Regions from separate parts of the Homo sapiens genome. Here all the other regions are linked to region 2. The links are contacts of gene promoters, found by promoter capture Hi-C in blood cells and fetal thymus (Javierre and others, 2016). All regions are on one chromosome and are shown on one strand. Each heading gives the region's core, a stretch centred on a gene start or on the middle of the fragment in contact. The rest is flanking DNA. Distances are from core to core; before and after follow the strand shown.

Region 1 (3,250 bases), core at 317-2,816, 130 kb before region 2:
CACCTGGAAGTCTTGTTAAAGCACAGATTGCTGGTCTCTGATTCAGGAGGCCTAGAGTTTCTGATTCAGAAGGTCTGGGATAGGGTCAAAGGATTTGCATTTCTAACAAGATCCCAGGTGATGTCAATGCTGTTGGTTCAGGCACACTTTGAGAACCTCTGTTTTATTGGCTCCTCAAGAAAAGAGAATCTGTTTCTTTAAGAACCTAGCAGTGGATAAATTTGCTGTTTGGCATTTTTAACAGCAGCCTGCAGAGCATGTCAACAAGGGTATAATTTCCAGCTTACCAAGGGCAACACAGTAGAGTTGTGACTATCCTGAGAGCCACTGAGCCACTGCATATTACCCTATGGGTAATGAGGAAGAGAAGTCATCTAACCTTAGTGGGTAAGCCCTGGTTGTTGTGTGGCCTGCCCAGACCTCTGAACCTGCCCATCTCTCAAGACTATGGATGATAGCAGCAGCTGTGTGTGCTGATGGGTAGCCTGCATTTCAGTTTCTGTCTCAGCAGCTCAAATAGCTCAGCCCAAAAAGCACTAGTCCTCGAAATACAAAGAGCATGAAGAAAGCAGGATGGCATCTCCAGCTCCACTTTATCCCTACTGATGATTTGGAAGGTGAGATGATTTCTTCTGTGATCGTAGCCATCCACCCTCCTGTGAAACCCTTTCCAATCATAAAATCTGCGTATCTCCCAGCTGTGTCCCACCAAGATGCTTGTGTTGTTTTACCTTTTCATCCTCATTTTCTTCCTAAAATGGCTTGGGGAAATTGTTTTATTCCTAAAATATGATTGTGCCTGTTTTCATAATTGATTTTGAAATCTGTTTTGGATGTAAGGTTAAGGGCCAAAATAAAGACTGGTAAGGTTTAACTATCATTTCATCCATTCAACAAATCTTTAGGATAGATAATAGAGAGACACAAAGAAAGAAAAATGTCCTCATTCTTTTTTTTTTTTTTTTTTTTTTAAACAGAGTTTTGCTCTTGTTGCCCAGGCTGGAGTGCAATGGCACAATCTCGACTCACCACAACTTCTGCCTCCCAGATTCAAGCAGTTCTCTTGCCTCAGCCTCCTGAATAGCTGGGATTACAGGTGCCTGCCACCATGCCTGGCTAATTTTGTATTTTTAGTAGAAACAGGGTTTTTCCATGTTGGTCAGGCTGGTCTCAAACTCCCAATCTCAGATGATCTGTCCCCTTCGGCCTCCCAAAGTGCTGGGATTACAGGCATGAGCCACCGCGCCCAGCTGAAAAATGTCCTCATCATTCTTGTTAAGGAAATTTTCTGAAGCCTCACTCTCCTCACCTAAAAACTGAAGGTAATTATAATAACCCCTATCTTTTGCAGTTACTGTTGTAGTTAAAGAAGGTAAAACTATTAAGTTTTTAGCAGAGTATCCAGTGCATTGTAAATACTCGATACAAGCTGGTTGTTACTAAATTAGGTAGAAAGATGATAATACTGGTGTTTCAATAGATAGGCAAAAAGTATTGTTTTATCACAGTTTTGAATAAGGAAGTTCTTACAGAGGAAAGTGTAAAATTTTATTACATTTCCCATTGCCAACATTACTATCCAAATATTTACTTACATTAATCACAGGCCTCTGCTTAAGGTGAATTGCGTATTGCCTATAAGCTAGTATAAGGTGTATTTTTACAGTAATTCTATCTACCACATGTATGATGACCACTGCTACTAAGTAATAATAACTACAATATTCCTCCAGCCCTTGCCATGTACTATGCTCTATTCCTAAATGCTTTACAAGTATGATCTCATTTAACCCTCAAGACCACTCTAGGAAATAAACACTACTTTTCATGGTCCTTTTACATATGAGGAAACAGATACCCAGAGAGTTTAAATGACAAGGAAAACTTCATGAAGGCCAGGCACGGTGACTCACGCCTGTAATCCCAGCACTTTGGGAGGCCGAGGCAGGTGGATTACCTGAGGTCAGAAGTTCAAGAGCAGCCTGGCCAACATATAGTGAAATCCTGTCTCTACTGAAAAATACAAAAATTAGCTGGGTGTGGTGATGCACACCTGTAGTCCCAGCTACTTGGGAAGCTGAGGCAGGAGAATTGCTTGAACCTGGGAGGCAGAGGTTGCAGTGAGCTGAGATCTCACCATTGCACTCCAGCCTGGGCAACAGAGCAAGACTCTGTCTCTCAAAGGAGGAGAAAAAGAAAACTTCATGCAGCTCTTACTACAAACATGTGGGTATACTTTTCAGATATGTGCATGTGAATCTGTCGGGGGAAAATTATCAGGCATGTAAGTGTTTCTAGGTCTTACACCAAAGAGGATGCTGGCCCCACTGTCCCATTTCTTCTCCTTTCCCCATCTAAGGAAGGTCCCAGTTTGCCAGATGGTCTACCATGTTGGACTTTTATGCTGCAAAATTATTAAGAAAGATGGAGGGATGAGAACTGAAGCTACCATGATAATCCCTCTTGCCTCTGATGGTTGCTATTATGGAGTGAGAAGTGTATCCCCATTGTAGTAGGATTCTTATCTACAAAATGGGAGCTACACTATTTGAATTTCATGTGAGGCCCTCAGTACACTTTATCTGTGTTGATCCCATTATGCCACAGCTTTCTCTTTACCTCACTGTCTCCATTTGTGAAATATGATTAAGAATGTGGCGTACCCCACAGGACTGTTGTGAGGAATGACTCATGGTTATGAAGGAGTTTGTACAATGCAACATTCTATTTAGGGCTTCAGTATGTTTTTTATGGTTTTCAAGGACTAATTTTCAAAGCAATATGACAAAGTAGATAGAAACCTTTTCAGAAATGTTGGAGAAAGTGATTACTAATGTTAGTCAATAGTCATCATTTCATCACCTAAAAATAGATGCAACTTTGACCTTTGGTCATGCAGCAAATATAATATTTAAGAACCTGAAGAAAAGGAGAGAAACTTGGGTTAGGGCTGTGGGAGGGGTTTGGGGAGTGATGAAAAAAGAAATATGGGGGTTGATGCAATGTATATTGAAAGTGAGTGAAAGATAAAGGAGGAACTCTGAGAGGTACGTATTCGTATGTGTTCTCAATAAATATCTTCAGTTCTTCAATGACTTTTTGGATACCTAATTGGGTTTCTTTGATAGACAGACTGCTTTGAAACTGGACCATATAGATGGACAACTTTTAAACATTACAGGTGCATATTTAAAACACTATAACTTTATCAAAATTCTTCCAATCATATATGCTTATTTGCAATATAATA
Region 2 (3,570 bases), core at 761-3,260:
AGACCTTTGTTTCGTCTCAGAATTAGCCATCCTTCTCTAATTCATGCGAAATTCTCTCTTTAATCCATGTGAAATTCAGAAAAAACAATACAGGTTTTTGAAATGAGTCCTTGATTCAAATTGGTTCAGATCTTTGTTCTTCCGTGTACTGGCTGTAGTGCCTTTTGCAATTTTTGAACCTCAATCGTTCCTTCGTAAAATGAGTATAACAATATCTATGCAGTGAGGATTAAGTGGGATTATGGAGTGTTTAAAGTGCCTAGCAGGGAGTAGGCACTTAGAAAATGTTGGTTCTTTCCACCTTGTGTTCTTCTGCTTCAGATCTCTTAATTTCTACAACTCTAAATGTGCTATTTTCCTCTCTCAGTAAATAATACTACCATCTCACCAGTTTAAATAAAAAAAGCTATGAGTCCCCTTCGAATAATCTATTTCTTTCACAATCTAAATTTAATCCATCTGCAAATCCTATTTGTTCTAACTCAACACATATCCTCAGTCTCTCTGCTTCTCCCCATTGACACTGCTACAACCCTAGTCCAAGAATCTTATCTGTACTGTTGCCATAGGTCCTGAATTCATCCTTCTGCCTCCACTCTGGTCTTCTTTCAGCCTGTTTTCCACAGAGCCTAAGTGATATTTAAAACATAAACCAGATAATATCAGTCCCCTGCTTAAAACCCTCCAGTGGCGTTTCATCATATTCAGAATGAGATCCAACTCTTACCCTCTCCTAACACTCCCGCTCTTATGCTTCAGCGGCACTGCCCTTTTTTCTTTTTCTGCTAACTCATCAAACTCATGGCTGCCTCCGGCCTTAGCACTTGCTATTCTCTCTGCTTGGAATACTCATTCCCCAGATGTCCACGTGACTTACTGCTTCTTGTCATTTAGATCTCAACTCTAATTGTCCCCTGACTTCTATCAGTAGTGCTCCATCACACCATCTTACTTTTCCTAAGGCTTACCACTATCTGAAAATAGCCTGCGTTTCTCTATTTTCCCCTCAGTAAGAATTAAAAGTTCATACTAGGGCCCATTTCCTAGCAGTGTTTGGCACATAGTAAGTATGCTGAAAAAAAAAAACCTTGACTGACTGAATAAATGAACAAATAAACTCACTTTTAATGAGATATCAAGGTTTTATATTAATTACATGAGCCAAGAATTGTGGTTTCATTTTTAAAATGTGAGGACCTACTGGTTTAATCCTTCATACTTCACACATATGCTTGTGCTGGAACTATGACTGTAAATCAATAGCAATACCATCCTCTGTTTTGGCTTCTTCCCCTAACCTAAATAGTTCTCAGATTTACTTTTCTCTCCATCTCCACTGCCACACTGTCACCTTAGTGCAAATGACCATCCTCTCTGGCCTTTTTTCTGTAAGGTTTTAATCTCCCAATATGTATTCTCCAGACTGCAGGCCAGTGAGCTTTTCAGTTGCTGTTACACCCATGCTTGAAAACCCTTTAAGTTTTCATTGTTCTCAAGATAAAGACCAGAATGTGGTCTGGTCCACCACCTCACGTCAGGCCAGCCCTCACTCTCCACTCCAGGCCACACTTTCTCCTCCCCTCCTGGTTCCCGCCTGCCAACTGGCTGGGTAGCCGTTGCTTCCCGCTTCCTGCAAAGTTCTACATCGCACCCATTTCGCCCACTTCTTCAGATTTCAGGAGATTGTTCCTTCCTCGAGGAAGCCCTCCCTGATTAGGCCAAGCGCCACTCCACGTCATACAGCCCCACATCACCATGGGCCTCTCTTTCAGGGCTTTGTTTTATGAGTATGCAATCCAGAATATGACAATCTTATTGACATGCGTCAACGCGAGCTTGCGCTCAATAGCTATTTGCCGAAGGAATATACGGACTAGCGGCCCGACCACTCCTCGCCCCTCCCCTACCACTGCCGCGCACATATTACGCATTAAGCAGGCGCCGCGAGTACGGACATCGCGAGCGCCTGCGCGAAGGGCTACGCATGCGCAGAGGGGCCAGCCCGCTGACAGATTCTCGGTGGCGGCGGCAGCGGCGGCGGCCCTGGACTGCGGGGAATGGGAATCCTAGGTCCCTGACTGAGCACCTCCCCCGCCTCCCTGCCCCCGACATGGCTCAGGAGAAGATGGAGCTAGACCTGGAGCTGCCTCCGGGTACGGGCGGGAGCCCGGCGGAGGGCGGTGGCAGCGGCGGCGGCGGGGGCCTCAGGAGGTCTAACAGCGCCCCCCTGATCCACGGCCTCAGTGACACTTCGCCGGTGTTCCAGGCCGAGGCGCCGAGCGCCAGGCGGAACAGCACAACGTTCCCGAGCCGCCACGGCCTGCTGCTGCCGGCCTCCCCTGTCCGCATGCACAGCAGCCGCTTGCACCAGATCAAACAAGAAGAGGGCATGGACTTGATCAACCGAGAGACGGTCCACGAACGGGAGGTGCAGACCGCAATGCAGATAAGCCACTCCTGGGAGGAAAGTTTCAGCCTGAGTGACAACGACGTGGAGAAATCCGCCTCCCCCAAGCGCATCGATTTCATTCCTGTGTCACCAGCACCGTCACCCACTCGGGGAATTGGGAAGCAGTGTTTTTCGCCATCCTTGCAAAGTTTTGTAAGTAGCAACGGATTGCCTCCAAGCCCTATTCCCAGCCCAACGACCCGATTTACCACCCGGAGAAGCCAGAGCCCCATCAATTGCATTAGACCAAGTGTTCTTGGACCATTGAAAAGAAAATGTGAAATGGAAACTGAATATCAGCCAAAGAGATTTTTCCAGGGCATCACCAACATGCTTTCTTCTGACGTTGCACAGCTGTCAGATCCTGGTGTGTGTGTATCTTCGGATACCCTTGATGGAAACAGCAGCAGTGCCGGATCTTCTTGTAACTCACCAGCGAAAGTCAGCACTACCACCGACTCTCCTGTGTCACCTGCCCAAGCGGCTTCTCCATTTATTCCACTAGATGAACTTTCGTCTAAGTGATTCACTCATCCTGAGACTTTCTTTTTGCAGTGGAGAGAGAGAATAATCTAGTTGGGGCAAACACTGAACTTTGTCAATTAATTTGAGGCTATTTCCTATTTGACCCCTTTTCTTTTTTGAAATTCCCTGAAATGATGTTATTCTAGAGAACTTCTATGTCAGGTTCCTTTGGATACCCTTGAATTCAGTGTAGTAATATTTTCAGACGTTTCCCCAATAAGTGTGTTGAAGCATACATCTTTACGCTGCTAATATGTCTAAATACATATGTTATCCCTTGATTTTTTTAAATAACTGAGAGCTCTATTTATTTATGGGATTATTAAGTTCTGATGAAAATATAAATGTTGACTTAATCAGCATAGTAAACTGATGTTTAAAATTCCATACTTCATGCCCACACTAATTTTTAATGTTATTTTCAGTGGTTGCCGATTTCCATTTGATGAAGAACTATACAGCTTAAAAAAATACGTTAGTTATATCTATCTAGTGGTTGTCTGTTTTACCCAGGAATTCTTGGATATTTAGTTTTCTGGGTACTGAAGTGGATGGGAGGGGGAATGATTAAAGAACAAATTATAAAAGTTTGAACA
Region 3 (3,268 bases), core at 245-2,744, 140 kb after region 2:
TGCATGACAATATAAAAAAAGCATTTTTTTAAAAAAAACAAAGGTTTTTAACAAGCAGAATTCATTCATGGATACTCTGTGGAGGAAAATCATGGTGTCCGGAATGTTTTTAAGCTTGACCACTCCTAACTTGAGTAAATGATTCTGGGTGCCTTTTGGGAACATCCACAGTATTGTCAGAGTCTTCTTAGGACCTGCTTTTGAAGCCAGCTTACTGCTTTGGAGGATGCTTTGGGCTGTGCAGGGCAGAAGACTGTGTTTTTGCCAATTGAAAATTCCTGGCCAGGCACAGTGGCTCACGCCTGTAATCCCAGCACTTTGGGAGGCTGAGGCGGGCAGATCACGAGGTCGGGAGATTGAGACCTTCCTGGCTAACATGGTGAAACCCCGTCTCTACTAAAAATACAAAAAATTAGCAAGGCGTGGTGGCAGGCGCCTGTAGTCCCAGCTACTCGGGAGGCTGAGGCAGGAGAATGGTGTGAACCCGGGAGGTGGAGCTTGCAGTGAGCCGAGATTGCACCACTGCACTCCAGCCTGGGCAACAGAGCAAGACTCCATCTCAATAAAAAAAATAAACAAATAAATAAATAAATAAAAAGAAAAAGACAAGAGAAAATTCCTGTGTTGTCAGCCATCCAGGCCATACCCCTTGGTATCCACAAACCCAGAGCTTCTAAAGGAATTAGGATTTGCCAGAATGACACTGGTAAGCAGGCCAGCAATACAGTTCTATTTTTGTTGGCTAATTTAGTGACATTTGTTTTCAGAAGTGTAATTCTAGGAATGTTTACTTCAAGCGAACACCTGTTGTCTCTTGAGCTAGTGTGAGGGATGAGTCACCGTGAATTATAATCATAGTGATAAGAGCTAGCAATTAATTAAGCACTTTATGCTAGAGACTTTTCTAAGCACTTGACTTGCATTGTCACATTTAATTTTTACAAGCACCCTATATGATATGTAATAGTGTCAGCATTTTACAGATGAGGAAACTGAGACACAAGGAGATGATGTGACCTGCCTAAGGTCACAGAGTCCATGCTCTTCATCCCTCATCCCCCATGTCCTTATCCAAGTCTCTCCGAGAAAGGAAGCGCTAGCACTGATAAATATGAGTAGGGAAGTTAGCATCTGCAAATGGTCATTCATTGTGAAGAGTTGTTGAAGCTGTCTCGGGGGGTACTGTTGCCAAGCCATCATTTCAGTATGGTTGAGAATTAGAAAGGTTAAGGCCCTTCTACCACTTGTTTCTGTCTGAAGAAAGCATCTAATATCTGTTAGTGTTTTCTTTTAAGAGTCTGGCCCTTGGTGCTTCTGACATAAAACAGTCTTTCTTTCTCCCATGGTCTGTGCTACTGTATGGTGCAGTGAGGCACTGATAACACCTCCATGGAGAACCAGCCAAAGGGTCTGGTACTCAAGCATTGGATCAGTGGTAAGAAGGATTTCCTATCACCCCTCCCTTCCTCCTCCAACTTGACATCACTCCTCCTTCCATTAGGAAGGCTGGTTCCACATTGTTATCAAGCCATTCTTAGATCACTTGGGTTAGGAAATCCCACAGCCCAAACCTCTTAAGTGATAAGATTCTACTCTGAGCTCCTGCCTGACTCCCTTCTGAACTTGACTTTTTGAAAGATGAAGTGTGAACCCTCTGGAATAATTGATACCCATTTGCAGCCCACTCTCAGTTCTCATTGATGGCAAAGATGCCTGTAATACAGAATAACCTATTTCTTGAAGGCCATATGCCATACTTCACAAAGCCTTTTCTCAGGTGGCATCCATGAAGTGGCAGCCACAGGTAACTGAATCTTCAGGCCTGATCCCCTCTTTACTATATCATAAATATCAAAAGGCAGTTGGGCTGAACAAGAACAAGAAGCACAAGAAATTCTGGATTATTTTATCCCTAAACAATTATCTATAGGCTATGATCCTTCAGGGTGTTTCCTAGCTAAAGTATAGGAACAGCTTCTCATGTTGGTTCAGAGACAGCCGTTCTGACAACCAGGGTTGTCTTGCTTTTCTGAGCAGCTTTGTGTGAGAAATACCAGGTATTAAGAAGTCTGTTGTAGGGGAGAATCATATACAGACTAGTAGAAAAAGAACTTTATCATAGAGGAAAACACCCAGTTTGCAGGCATTCTTCCTGAACACTGCTCTTCCGTCTGAAAAGGTCCTGAGTGTCAAAGCCCCACCTATACCCTGAAGCCATCTCAACAGACTCGGACCCAGACCTTTGTCTCCTGTCATTTTCTTTTCAGAGCATTGCCATCTCTTTTGTCTGGCTGCATCCAACTATTTTTAATTCCCTTGCCTCCCCACTGTCTGCTGAGTGGATAATTAAACATGAAGTACTATGCTTTGTTGAGATTATATTTTTAAAGGACTTGCTACAGGGAACTGAACGGCACCTTCGAAAGACAGACTTTGAGGGCTGGGTGCGGTGGCTCACACCTGTAATCCCAGCACTTTGGGAGGCCGAGGCAGGCAGATCATGGGGTCATGGGTTCGAGACCAGCCTGGCCAACATGGTGAAACCCTGTCTCTACTAAAAATACAAAAATTAGCTGGGTGTGGTGGCGGGCACCTGTAATACCAGCTACTTGGGAGGCTGAGGCAGTAGAATCGTTTGAACCCGGGAGGCAGAGGTTGCAGTGAGCTGAGATTGCGCTAGTGCACTCCAGCCTGGGCGACAGGGCGAGACTCTGTCTCAAAAATAAAAAAAAAAAAGAGGTTTTGAGAAGAAGACCACTAACTTCCAAGAAGTTTATGAGAACAGAATTCAGACATAGAAAAGATACATTCAGCTAGAAAAGATACATTCTAGCTGTGTCTTCATGCTGAGGAAGATACAAGCGTACAAACTTACAAGCTTGTAGAGACTATTGGTTGTTGGTTTCTCTGCTCTACTGCTTAAGAGTGTGGACACCGGAGTTGACTGCTTGGGTCTCTGTCACTTATGTGCTGTGTGATATTGAGCAGATTACCTTATCTCTCTGTGCCTCCAGTTTTTCATCTGTAAAATAGACAATAGTAGTACCTAGCTTATAGAGTTGTTGAGATTGAATGCAAATGAGCTTCCTAGCACTGGCACATGGAAAGTACTCAATCCGTGCTATTAGTGAAACTTTCATGGAGGGTTGAGAAAACATGTGCTTGTTTCAGATTTGCATAAAATTCCCATCTTGGAGCCATTGTGATAATCCTTCCTGCATGTGGCCTAATAATAACCTCAAGTGTTTTTATTTTGATTCTTCATCTC

What was found. Contacts are between HindIII fragments. The CHiCAGO score rates a contact against its expected background, and 5 or more counts as called.
Region 1: a fragment that was not itself captured here is called in contact with the fragment with the promoter of PABIR1 in region 2 in 2 of 17 cell types (naive B cells and total B cells); the score reaches 8.6 in naive B cells.
Region 3: a contact is called between a fragment that was not itself captured here and the fragment with the promoter of PABIR1 in region 2, in 5 of 17 cell types (neutrophils, naive CD4 T cells, total B cells and 2 more). The highest score is 8.0, in neutrophils.

Annotation. Positions count from the first base shown.
Region 1 is chr9:68,648,775-68,652,024 of GRCh38, forward strand. No RefSeq gene overlaps it. Among named protein-coding and RNA genes, the nearest start is that of PIP5K1B, 55 kb to the right of the region's middle. The HindIII fragment of the contact is 5,031 bases long and covers 1-3,250 here.
Region 2 is chr9:68,778,055-68,781,624 of GRCh38, forward strand. It overlaps PABIR1 (PP2A Aalpha (PPP2R1A) and B55A (PPP2R2A) interacting phosphatase regulator 1), which reads left to right and starts at 2,011. Exons shown (of 1, transcript NM_138333.5): 1 at 2,011-3,570. The coding sequence starts at 2,111. The coding sequence ends at 2,974. All of the region lies in intron 2 of PIP5K1B (phosphatidylinositol-4-phosphate 5-kinase type 1 beta), which reads left to right. RefSeq lists silencers at 1,500-1,914, 2,032-2,271 and an enhancer at 1,919-2,747. The HindIII fragment of the contact is 10,001 bases long and covers 1-3,570 here.
Region 3 is chr9:68,914,154-68,917,421 of GRCh38, forward strand. The region is part of intron 8 of PIP5K1B (phosphatidylinositol-4-phosphate 5-kinase type 1 beta); the gene reads left to right. Among named protein-coding and RNA genes, the nearest start is that of PRKACG, 98 kb to the right of the region's middle. The HindIII fragment of the contact is 2,764 bases long and covers 113-2,876 here.